4 separate regions of the Homo sapiens genome follow, and all the other regions are linked to region 3. The links are contacts of gene promoters, found by promoter capture Hi-C in blood cells and fetal thymus (Javierre and others, 2016). All regions are on one chromosome and are shown on one strand. Each heading gives the region's core, a stretch centred on a gene start or on the middle of the fragment in contact. The rest is flanking DNA. Distances are from core to core; before and after follow the strand shown. Region 1 overlaps MBOAT2 (membrane bound glycerophospholipid O-acyltransferase 2). Region 2 overlaps MBOAT2 (membrane bound glycerophospholipid O-acyltransferase 2). Region 3 holds the start of ASAP2 (ArfGAP with SH3 domain, ankyrin repeat and PH domain 2). Region 4 holds the start of YWHAQ (tyrosine 3-monooxygenase/tryptophan 5-monooxygenase activation protein theta).

What was found. Contacts are between HindIII fragments. The CHiCAGO score rates a contact against its expected background, and 5 or more counts as called.
Region 1: a fragment that was not itself captured here is called in contact with the fragment with the promoter of ASAP2 in region 3 in 1 of 17 cell types (M2 macrophages); the score reaches 5.8 in M2 macrophages.
Region 2: a fragment that was not itself captured here is called in contact with the fragment with the promoter of ASAP2 in region 3 in 4 of 17 cell types (M2 macrophages, endothelial precursors, M0 macrophages and 1 more); the score reaches 8.2 in M2 macrophages.
Region 4: a contact is called between the fragment with the promoter of YWHAQ here and the fragment with the promoter of ASAP2 in region 3, in 3 of 17 cell types (fetal thymus, naive B cells and erythroblasts). The highest score is 7.1, in fetal thymus.

The regions. Positions count from the first base shown.
Region 1 is chr2:8,859,293-8,862,357 of GRCh38, reverse strand. MBOAT2 (membrane bound glycerophospholipid O-acyltransferase 2) reads left to right here. Exons shown (of 13, transcript NM_138799.4): 12 at 1,594-1,745. Among named protein-coding and RNA genes, the nearest start is that of KIDINS220, 23 kb to the right of the region's middle. The HindIII fragment of the contact is 6,341 bases long and covers 1-3,065 here.
Region 2 is chr2:8,877,004-8,880,082 of GRCh38, reverse strand. MBOAT2 (membrane bound glycerophospholipid O-acyltransferase 2) reads left to right here. Exons shown (of 13, transcript NM_138799.4): 7 at 2,870-3,053. Among named protein-coding and RNA genes, the nearest start is that of KIDINS220, 41 kb to the right of the region's middle. The HindIII fragment of the contact is 2,239 bases long and covers 529-2,767 here.
Region 3 is chr2:9,205,417-9,208,287 of GRCh38, reverse strand. It overlaps ASAP2 (ArfGAP with SH3 domain, ankyrin repeat and PH domain 2), which reads right to left and starts at 1,476. Exons shown (of 28, transcript NM_003887.3): 1 at 1,058-1,476. The coding sequence starts at 1,183. RefSeq lists enhancers at 464-1,394, 1,395-2,327 and silencers at 1,757-1,940, 1,687-1,946. The HindIII fragment of the contact is 2,916 bases long and covers 272-2,871 here.
Region 4 is chr2:9,629,517-9,632,355 of GRCh38, reverse strand. YWHAQ (tyrosine 3-monooxygenase/tryptophan 5-monooxygenase activation protein theta) reads left to right here and starts at 1,359. Exons shown (of 6, transcript NM_006826.4): 1 at 1,359-1,415; 2 at 1,822-2,197. The coding sequence starts at 1,904. RefSeq lists silencers at 1,038-1,207, 1,258-1,357, 1,558-1,907 and enhancers at 2,028-2,127, 1,871-2,773. The HindIII fragment of the contact is 4,477 bases long and covers 1-2,558 here.

The DNA of each region.
Region 1 (3,065 bases), core at 1-2,500, 350 kb after region 3:
GGAGGCACTCACAAAATGTTACTTTGTCTTTACAGAATTTTCTGAAGGAGAGATAAAAACTGAGTTAAATAAAGATGATCAGAATGGGTAGGTTTATTTTAGAAATGTTTCCTGAAAGCTGTAACCTTTGAGTCCTCTCTCAGATGAAGACTAGGCTGTGCGAGGCCAAGACAGTGGATGAGCCACACTGGAAGAGGACACAGTTCTTTAGAGTATTTGCCTAGACAGAACATAGAGTAATATTTTGGGGAAACAATTGAGAAATTAGGTTGGTGACATGAAAGAAATAAGGAGAAGGATAATTTAGGGTAAGCCCTTGAAAACCAGTTAGAGGAAAGTGACGTGACAAAAACCATGTTTGAACAAGCTGGTAATGGCACTTACAGGTAAGAGGGCTTCATTTAACAAACTAGCAGATATTTACTGTATTCCATTTTGAGGAACTTTGGGGATATATGAGGGAAATTTCAAGAAGTATTAACTAAGGGTAGCTTCCAGTAGTTTGTAGTCTAATTTGGGATAAGGTGTATATGTGTGTACATACCTTATGCATGTGTGTGTGTGCATAAGACAGATTCTGTGGGTGTTATAAATACTAAGTAGCATAGGTGTTTAGAGATGGAAGAAGTCTCTTTGGGTTGGGTTAATTAGAGATGGCCCCATTAGGAAGGTGTTTGGATCTGGACTTTGAGAGATGAAAGTTATTTCAATAGTGAGTGAAGTATAATGGGGAAGAAAATGACATTCTAAGCATCGGAAGGACATTAGCAAAACCCATAATTCTTAGTGGCTAGGCTCTGCTATCTCTTGCCTAGCTCACCACCATGGCAGTCACCTGCTCTTGATTCCATCCTGTTCACCAATGACAAATCCATTTGTCCTGAGGTACGGGCTTTTGGCATTCCATTCTTGCGCTTAAAAACTGTACCTAACTCCCTCCCATAGCAGACAGAATAGGATAGGCTTCTTCCCTACCTGGTGTTCAAGTTCTACCACTGCCCTCCTCCCTTCCCCCATTTACCTCTCTAGAATTACCAGGTATCTATGCATACATGAATTCTCTGCTTCCATTAGATTTACTTGTCATTCCCCAAATACACCATGCACTTGCATATTAGCAAAGCCAAGTTTGTCTTTCACAAATGCAGAGGTTAAATAAGAGTTAAGGATGAAGGTAAACCAAACTTTATTTATATACTATATTTTACCAAATATGATTTAAGGATCTCTAGGCAGTGTTGTCTTAAACTTTTCTTTTTTTTTTGGAAACTTTTATTTTAATACAGAATCTAATCTACAGAAAAGTTGCAAAGAACTTCTATATGCCCTTTACCCAGACTCACCAGTCATTTATGTTTTCCCTGTTACTTCCTCATCTCCCCTCTCTCTGTCTTTTATACACAGTGTGTACAATGTGTATTCGCTTTTTTAGAACGAACTTTATCCATAGTAGCAGTGTACATTCCCACTAGCAACTTAGGAGAGTTTCAGTTACTCTACTCCACATCCTTCCAACAGTTGATATCACCAGTGTAACTGCATAAGTAATGTTAATTTAAAGATACAGCAAATGTTTTTGTTTCTTTATTTCAGATGAGAAATAACTTTAGACATTATTTCATTGAACCTTCCCAACTGAAATTATTTTATGATGTTATAACATGGATAGTAACTCAAGTAGCAATAAGTTACACAGTTGTGCCATTTGTGCTTCTTTCTATAAAACCATCACTCACGTTTTACAGGTAAGTGTTACTCTTAAAACTTTGTCAGTGGGAATAACTCTATTTTCAAAAGAAAGTTTCTTGCTATTGGATAGAATAGAAAAACAGTACCATAGCCACATTTCCTGCTGATAAATGCATTATCAGTTACTTTTTAATTCTGAACCAAGCAAGTCTCAGCGTTTCTCTGTGGAATGACTCATACTGCTCAACCCTCAGATGAGTGATTTAGACAGAGAAATATCAGCCAGGTAACCACTGCCTCAAACCTCTCCTAAATTTAACAAAAAACTTGTTAGCTTAATTGTCCTGAACTTCTTTGGGGAAAAAACCAGCTAACCTCTCCTAAATTTAACAAAAAACTTGTTAGCTTAATTGTCCTGAACTTCTTTGGGGAAAAAACCAGCTATTTACAAAGAATTATTAATTATCTTTTTTTTTTTGAGACGGAATCTTGCTCTGTCGCCCAGGCTGGAGTGCAGTGGTGCAATCTCGCTCGGCTCACTGCAACCTCTGCCTCCCAGGTTCAAGCAATTCTCTGCCTCAGCCTCCCAAGTAGTTGGGATTACAGGCACCCACCACTACACCCGGCTAATTTTTGTTTTTTTTTTTAGTAGAGATGGGGTTTCACCATCTTGGCCAGGCTGGTCTTGAGGCTCCTGACCTCGTGATCCACCCGCCTTGGCCTCCCAAAGTGCTGGGATTACAGGCATGAGCCACCACACCCAGCCTAAGGAAAATAAATTATATTTTATTTGTTCCTTTTCACTGTGTCTTTTATGTTTGATTGATACTGTGGTGATCTGTATATTATAGAAATTGTCTTGTCTCGAATTCTGTATTTTTATAATCTACTTATCTCCTCTCCCTGCCCACCAAATTCCACTTCCCCATATTAGATGGTGATATTTTAGAGATCAAAAACTTTATTCTTTTATAAATTCTTTATTACTCTAGCATTTAGAATGACTTAGCACAGAGTCGTAAAAAAATTATTGAATCAAATATGACAATAATTATACAGGAAGACATTAAATAAGTCCTGCTACAGTTTCCATTTTAACAAAATTAGTACATGTTTAAAAATGTGATTGGGCTGTGGGTTAGATTTTCTATCCCAGGAACTTTGTTCAGAATCACTTGAACTTACAGTTATAGATACAGTTTAGGTTACATTTGGTTTATATAATTTGAGAAATGATGTTTTCAATATTTTTAATAATGTGGCCTTTCTTTGCTTCATGAAAGTAACCATCAAGAAGCAATATTGCTTCTCTGTCACTCCCCTCCGTTAGAATATTTGTAACTTAGAGACAGTAAATAGCAGGTGAGGCCAGACTG
Region 2 (3,079 bases), core at 399-2,898, 330 kb after region 3:
GAAAATCCTCCAGTGGCTTCCCCTATAATTTAGAATAGAATTACAAACCCCTGACCACAGCATTATAAGGCCCAGGAAGAGCCCAGAGCTCGACCACGCTTCCTCACTCAATTCATTCTTAACTGTGCAGCTCACTCTATCAAAAATACCCCTCCCTTCCTGCCATCACTTTCCGTCCCTTTGCTCCGCTTTGTTTTCCTCATAGTAGGTATTACTGTCTGATGTTATACAAGACATTTGTTTTAATTGTCCCTCTCCCTGCCCCTGTCACTGAGGACAGGAACTTTGTCTCATTTATTGTCCCCATCATCCAAACCGTGGTCATTATTTGGAGTGATTTCGCCTCCAAGAGTCAGCTGACAATGTCTAGACACTTTTGGTTGTTACTGCTGAGGCGGGTGGTGCTACTGGCGTCCGGTGGGTAGCGCCTAGGGGTGCTGCTAAACACCCTGCACTGCACAGGGGACCCCACCACAGAGAATCATGGGCCCAAAGTGTCAATAATTCTGTACACGAGAAGCCCAAGCTTGAGACAACACATAGTTGATATGAAATAGCAATGGAATGAATGAATGAGTCTTTTGTTTGATATTATACATTACAATTAGACTTAAGTTCTCATTTTATAAATAAATACAGTTACTTACTTCGGTACCTAAAATGACTTGTTGTTTGATATGACAGTTGAGCCAAAAATTACTTAAGCCAGTTTCATGGTTTAGAACTATCTCCTGTCCTTGCTAACGGTGATACATAGTTTGACTTGGTGTTAAAATAATTGGTATTGAGAATGGAGCTCTGCTGCTAGAGTACAAGGAGTTCTTTTGTAACCTTGTGACTGCAGGGTACTTACCCTGGTCTTTGATACAGTGAGAAAGCATGCTGTTTCATCATTAAATAGAAAGAACTGAAAGAGAAAATCTGCCAGAAACATTTTCTGTCATCAGTTTCAAGCCCTAAAAAGAAAATACTTAAGGTTCAAGACATTTTTTTTTTTTTTTTTTTTTGAGACGGAGTCTCGCTCTGTCGCCCAGGCTGGAGTGCAGTGGCGGGATCTCGGCTCACTGCAAGCTCCGCCTCCCGGGTTCACGCCATTCTCCTGCCTCAGCCTCCCAAGTAGCTGGGACTACAGGCGCCCGCCACTACGCCCGGCTAATTTTTTGTATTTTTAGTAGAGACGGGGTTTCACCGTTTTAGCTGGGATGGTCTCGATCTCCTGACCTCGTGATCCGCCCGCCTCGGCCTCCCAAAGTGCTGGGATTACAGGCGTGAGCCACCGCGCCCGGCCAAGGTTCAAGACATTTTTAAAAGTGGAAAAATAATTCTGGAAAAGTTAGAAAAGTAGTTTGGGCTGAGTGGTAACCCAGATAGTATCAGATGGACAGGAATCACTATTTTGTTCTATTTAATTTATCAAAGAAAAATAATATATGCTAAGCTAGGCAAGGTGGTGTGTGCTTGTCATCCCAGCTACTCAGGAGGCCAAGGCAGAAGGATTGCTTGAGCTCAGGAGTTTGAGTCCAGCCTGGGCAACATAACAAGACCTAGCTCTTTAAAAAACTGTTTATGAGGGTATTCTCTCAACCTCTCTTGTCCACAAGAGTGTTTGTATTTTTTAAGGAGAGAGCTTATCATATTCAGAGAGGAGCATGGACTGTAACATGTTCAAGAAGCCTGCCTGCTGTCCACAGGTGCAGTTGTGCTTTCTTTGTGATGGTTTATCATTAACAGTGGACAGTAGGCTTTCTTAATGCAGCTGTTTTTTTTAAATACACTCCTTATTCATTTATATGGTAACATAAATAGTCTAAATAGTCTCCTGTGTTAACTACCCATTTTCACTGTTACCCATAGGTACCATGTATCATTTGGACAGACCTCTAAGGAGTGGAATTGACTTGACTCCCTTTTCTCCTCCACCTCACAGCCAATCCCTCCGCAGCCTTCAGGCTCCACTGCCAGGATACGTGCAGAGCATCTGCCCCCTCCTCCAGCCATTGTCACCTCCTGCCTGGAGACCGCAGGAGCCCCACACATGGGCTGGAGTGACGCATTGAGACAGATCTTTTAAACCCCTGCTGTGTTTTTTCATTTCAGTCAGAATAAAATCTGAAGTTCCTGCCATGGCTTGTAAGGCAAGCCCCATCTGATCTCACCTCAGCTGTCTTCCCTGCTCCCACCTCTTCCCCCGGGTCCACTCTGCTCCAGCCCCACGGCTGCCTTGCTGCCAGCCGTGCCCAGCTCAGGGGTCTTCACGCATCATTCCCTCTGCCTGGAACCCCTGTCACCAACATCCACACAACTCCTCTCACTTCTTCCTGGTCTCTGCTCAACTGTCACCTTACCAGAGAGGCCTTCTCTGACTTCTTAATAGAATAAAAGAGTTCCTTCTTTTTGTAACACTTAGCACTTCTGAAAATATGTTTTATAAATTTTATTATTGTTTTCTGCAACCAGTATGCAAGCTCTGTGGATGCAGGATTGTCCTCTCCTTTGTTTACTGCCGTATCCAGGCCCTGCAGCAGGTGGGGCACACAGTGCACAGCACGTGTTTGTTAGAAGAGCAAATGATTGCCTAGGAGGAGACAGCACTTTGCAGATAGTGCGTCCATCTTTGATTTGTCTCATCGTGAGAAATCTAAGTTGAAACCTTCATATTTGCTCATAAGGATCTGTATAGAAACTCTTATTCAGACATACTTTTGAGCATGACTATGTTCTGATCCTTAAAATTCTTATTGTATGGGTACAAATGAAAATGAAAGCTTGTTTTACTTTGGAAATGGAGAGCAGTGAGGTGGATCGTTATTCTATCAGATGTTCTGAAGCTTATGCTGCATCTCACTGGTTGCATGTCTTTTCATTGCAGGCGCATGCCAAGCTTACTGGAGTATTTGAGTTACAACTGTAACTTCATGGGGATCCTGGCAGGCCCACTTTGCTCTTACAAAGACTACATTACTTTCATTGAAGGCAGATCATACCATATCACACAATCTGGTGAAAATGGAAAAGAAGAGACACAGTATGAAAGAACAGAGCCATCTCCAAATGTAAGGTCATGAGATTTATCTGGAGC
Region 3 (2,871 bases), core at 227-2,726:
TAAAACTGTAACCTGACATCCTGGCCCAGAGACATTTAATCACAGATTCACTATTGCCACACGTGTGACTTGTAAACCTATTCTGAGCCGAGCAGAGTGCTAAGCACTTCACACAGTCTCTGATCCTGGAAAGGATGCATTACTAATCCCGTTTGATGGGTAAGGAAAAGGAGGACTGCAGGTGAGGATGTGCCTCAAACCACAGCCAACGGTGGCCCCTGGACTCACAGACTCTGCCCCTTTCCCCACGGCTTTAATTTTCAACCAAGCTTCTTCGTTCCTACGTGTTCCTCTCCCCAGGACCTGGAGAGCGTACTGCTTAGCAGCTAGGCGTGATGACTTTGCACCTTGAGAGCACTTTACTAAAACCAGGCCTTTTCCAGGTTGAGGGGGAAGGGCGGCATTCCGGGTTCAAGCAGGTGAGACCCAGGTAACCGGGGAGCGGCTCCTGGAGGCTTCTTGGACCCAGAAGCGCCGACTCTCACACACCTTGCCCGCAGTTCCTTCTCCGGGCACGGGTGGAGCGCAGCCAGGCCGCCCTGGCTGAGGCGGGCACGCCTTCCCGGGCAGCCCGGGATGCCCCGGACCCGCGGACCCGAGGGTGGGGGCCCTGCGGCGCTCGGGGGCTGCGGCGGGGAGCTCGGAGCGCGGAGCTGCCCCCGCCGGTCCACTTCAAGAACAAGTTGATAAGGTCCGCACCGGGTACCAAAGACCCCGGGCGGCGGCGGGCGGCGGCGGGCAGCGGGATCCCCCGCTCGCCGCGGACCCCGACTCTGGACAAAGTTGGCCGCGCTGCGGGGAAAAGACCAGGCCGCGGAACCCCGCGAGGGCCACGAGGCCGAGAGAGGGGAGGTCTTAAAGAGGCCCAAGGTGGCCATCACCCATCTCCTCCGAGCCACCTAGGCGGGAACAAAGGGCTTCTGTCTCGGGCAGGGTTGGCCCGGCCGCGTCCGGCTTCGGAGCAAAGAAAGTTTTCTCGGGATGCGGATGCGGGAGCGGCGGGCGGGGCTGGGGCGCGGGATACCTGCGGCCGGAGCCGCCGCGCAGGCCGCCTCACCTCCTCGATGGCCGCCACAGTGTTCCGGCACTGCGCCGTGCGGGTGGTGAAGCTGGAGGCCGTGGGCGCCTTGTAGTCCTCATGGGTCTCGGCCACGAATTCCGACACGGAGATCTGGTCCGGCATCGCCTCGGCGCGAGGGCGCTGGCGCACAGCCGCAGGGGCGCCGCCGCCTCAACTGCCGCAGCAGGCTCCGACCGCCGCTCGGACACCGCCGCTGCCGCCGCCGCTCCGGCCCGCGGACAAAGGGGAGCGCCGGGCGCGGGAGCCGCGCGGGGCCTGGCGGCGGAGCAGGGGCGGCGCGCAGCCCCGCGCAGCTCGGCCGGTCCGCCCGCCTGCGCGCCGAGGGCTCCGAGTCCGCTGCCGCCGCGTCCTCTCAGAGCGAGCCCCGAGGCGGGCGCGCACAGCCGGCGGGAACTACCCGCCACCCAGCCGCGGGCCCCGACGCCTCCCGCGGAGAGGGGCGGGTCCGGGCCGGGGGCGGCGGCCGGCCGGGCGTGGGGCGGGGCGGCGGGAGGACCGGGCCGCCAATCGGCGCGCTCGCCGCTGCCGCGCCGCCGGGAAGCGGATCCCGCAGGAAGGAAGGCGGCGCGCGCCCCGGCCCGCCGAGCCGTTCCTGGCCGCCGCGCGCCGCATTGTCTCGGCGTTCCGGGCCCCGCGCGCCGCGCCCATGCCCCGCCCCCAGCCGGCCCGAGGCCCCGACTCCGACCCGCTGCCCGCGAGGGTGCGTGTGGAGGTGCGCCCCGCCGGAGTCCGGCCTTGTGCGCGCCAACCGCCCCCCGCCCACGGCGCGGAGCACCTCTGGGCTCCCCACTTGAACGGCGGGCCGCGCCGGCCCATGAGGAAAGCGGGGTGCGGAGCTCGCCCCCTGCCGGAGGATGCGCTCCGCCGGCGGGCACCCTGCGGGGACCACAGCCGGACGCCAGAAGTGACCTGACCGTGAATGTGCGCTTTGCGTGCAGTCATTGCATCGTCGCAGGCCTAGGAGACAGATGAAGAGATGGGTGCTTATTTTATATAGGGGACACAGTGTGCCCAAGAGCACAAGATAAACGGCCGGGTGGGGATTCAAACCCATGTTCCCTGACTCAAGTGTGAGTGCTTCAGAGCGGTGAGGGGCCCCTACTAAAAGTCCCAGTCGCGTTTCCTAGGCTGCCCAATGATAGGTATTCTCGGTTATAGTTTTAGGGTACTAGGCCAGGACCCACCCTGGGAAGGCTGCTGAACGCCCTGAAGTGGTATTCCCGCAGGCAGAGGAGGGAACCGAGGGGGTGCAGGAGGAGGAGGAGGGGGAGAACGTGCTACAGCAGCCAGCCAACCTCACACAAAACCGGGCCAGTAAAGGGTTCGAACTGGTACCGATTTTTATTTACAGCTCTTAAGGAAATTCTCGGTTATACTGAAAAATCCAGAAGCTCTGAAGATACCAGTCAAATAAAATCACACCCTATAACTCTACACCAGACTTGTGGCATGGTTTCTGTAGCTGCCAGCGGTAAAACCAAGAGAAACTTTACAAAAACCTTTTGTGCATCTGAAAAGGAGGAAGTGTGAGAGACACTGGAAATTCAATATGTCAGACAAAGCCGTCTCCTGACACTGCAGGACAGTAGACCAGTCAAACAATCTTTTTAAAGCCCCCATGTAAGAAGTTGCTATATGAGGTGGCAGCTTGGGTCAGACATTATGTATGGCCTTTGGTATTTTAGTAGCACTGCATGTAAAATTTAACTTTCTAAAATCGCTGTATTCGTGGATAGCTTTTATCATTGCACTAGACAACAAGTTACAATTTAAAAATTGTATCTGTTTCT
Region 4 (2,839 bases), core at 110-2,609, 420 kb before region 3:
CTGTCTGCACTCTCAAATCTCCCATTCTAGAGATTCTCCGGATTTGCTCCAGTCTCCACTCAGAATGGGAAATTCTTTATGATCCATTCTCCTTAGACCTGCTGGAATCGGGATCATAGCAGCGTGAACCCAGAGGGCAATTCTCATCTTAAGATGGCACAGGGACCACGCGCCAGACGGGCAGGGCAGCCACCCTACCTGGATGGAGTTAGGGAACTGGGGAAGTGCAAGGAGAGACAGGAGTGGTTTAAGAGGAAAGGGAGCTGCCAGGGATGACCCTGAATGGGAGGGGCCTGGGGGAATCTTTCTCGCTTCAGCAGGGTGTTCCCCAGGAGGAGAAAATCAGAAATCAACATCCAGGGAGAGGATTTCAGCTTTTCAAGTGACCTCTCACAAATAATACCAGAAACAAAAGCGTGTGCACATGTGACAACGATGTGAAAAATGATGTATTTAGGTGCATAACCTGGAAAGCCTAAAAGATACATAAAAATTGCTTTTTTTTTGCGGGGAGAGATGTTATGGGCAGGGTTTTTTTTTGCGGGGGTGGGAAGGGGTAGTAATAGGTGTTTTCCTGCAAATTGTGCTTAATGTCATTTCTCATTTTAAAGAAAACCACAATACTTGGCATTGTCACAGAAACTCCCCTGGATCTTCTGGGACCTACCTTTTCACAAGGGAATTTTTTGTTTTAGGATGCCCATCTGAAAACTTGAATTTATCATGTAAATGCCATACTGAAGACACCGTCTCCAGAATCAATTCTTCTTTAATGGGGATGCGGTTTGCTTAATTCGGAGCCCTAATGGCAACGTCATTAAGGTCTGGGTTTAGTGTCTTGGGATCCAAACCTTTGTCACGGATAGAAAGGTGGAGGAAAGAAAGGCCCCCGTGCTCTAAAACAGCTGAATATGTCACCCTCCGAAGTCCAGCCTCGGCCAGAGCCCGTGAGATGCAATGCACCATCCGCAGCGGGAGACGCAGCCGCCGCCTAGGAGGTCGTGCGCGCCTCTGGGTCTCGTGCCGCACCCAGAAGTGCCGGGGTGGCGGGGAGGCTGAGGGGAGTTGGTAACGGCATCGCCATGGCAACAGTGACGTCCTTTTACCCTGGATCTAATTGGAGGAAACCCCGTGGCCGAAGCCGCAGCCTGCCGGCCAACCGAACTTCCCCGTACCGACCCACCCTCCTAGCCTCCGCGTTCCCTCCCGCTCCGCCCCCCTCGCCCCCTTCCGCGCGCTCGGTCCTCATTGGCCAGCGGCGCGCTGGGGGCGGGACTCTCGGGAGAAGCTCGGCGCATCATTGGGCGGTGGACCGCCCCTCGGCCCCGGGGTAGGCTGACACGGGAGGGTCCTCAGCTAAAGCCAAAAGCAGATCAAAGTGGTGGGACTCGCGTCGCGGCCGCGGAGACGTGAAGGTGAGCGCCTGGGTCGGCCCGCGGGCTTCCTCCGGCCGCGCTCGGATTGAGGGCCGGGCGGAGGTGCCGCCCTTGAGAGCAGCCGGTTGTCGATGCCGCTCCCCTCAGGGACGGCTCCGGGCGGGAAGGTGCGGGGCCAACGGTCGCTTCCATCTTGGGCCGGCCGGGCGGGGGTGGCGGGAGCGGCCGCGGCTCGGGCTCCCTGCGCGCGGGGCCTCCGCGCCGCCCCCGCCTCCTCCAGCCGCGGGCCGCGGCCTCCCCGGGTGCCCAGCGGGGGAGGGGGCGGGGGAGAGGGAAATTCAAGCGGCCGCGTGTGCGGGAGACAAAAGCGGGCGGCGGGCCGCATTGTCTGACGGCGCTCCCTCTCTGCTTTTTGTTCTCGCCTCGCCGCCCCGCCCCTCCGCAGCTCTCGAGGCTCCTCCCGCTGCGGGTCGGCGCTCGCCCTCGCTCTCCTCGCCCTCCGCCCCGGCCCCGGCCCCGCGCCCGCCATGGAGAAGACTGAGCTGATCCAGAAGGCCAAGCTGGCCGAGCAGGCCGAGCGCTACGACGACATGGCCACCTGCATGAAGGCAGTGACCGAGCAGGGCGCCGAGCTGTCCAACGAGGAGCGCAACCTGCTCTCCGTGGCCTACAAGAACGTGGTCGGGGGCCGCAGGTCCGCCTGGAGGGTCATCTCTAGCATCGAGCAGAAGACCGACACCTCCGACAAGAAGTTGCAGCTGATTAAGGACTATCGGGAGAAAGTGGAGTCCGAGCTGAGATCCATCTGCACCACGGTGCTGGTGAGTCCTCGGCGCGGGGAGCAGGGGAGGCCTTTTGTGAGATGCTTTTCATTGAGAGTTTCGCGGGCACGGAAACAAACGTGAGCCGGGGCTTGCCGGACTGTCTGCTGGGGTGGAGGGTTTTAGGTGAGCCCTGACTTCCCTACTGTGTCCCTCCGGTTGTTGAGACTCAAGAAGCCGCTTTTCCAAGGATAAGTCCTTTTTTTTCGCCCCAGATGCTGGGTAGCTACCAAACGATGGAACTTGGAAACATCCAAGTAGGTCTCTGCGAGACTGAAAGGCGTTTTTAAGTTTCTTGTGCGGGGAGACTGCGTCCTGAGATCTGTGAGCCCTTTAAATGTATTCAGTCGGTTCACAAGCTTCAGGCAGTTGAAAGAAGGCGCAGGCACCTTTTTGTTACAGACAATGTAGTAGGGATTTTTTCCCAAACCCAGTAATGGAAATTTACTTAGAAAATCTGAACAGATACTTTATTTTTCAAGTAAGAGTATCTGTTGTGCTCCCCCCCACCCCCCATAAACAGGAGAGGAGGGGAGTTCGGGAAATGTGAAAAGGACACAGCTGTATCTGAAGAACACAATGTCCTGGTAAATTTCAACATTTAATAACATTTCCTTGCTGTTGCACACCTGTGCTTAAACA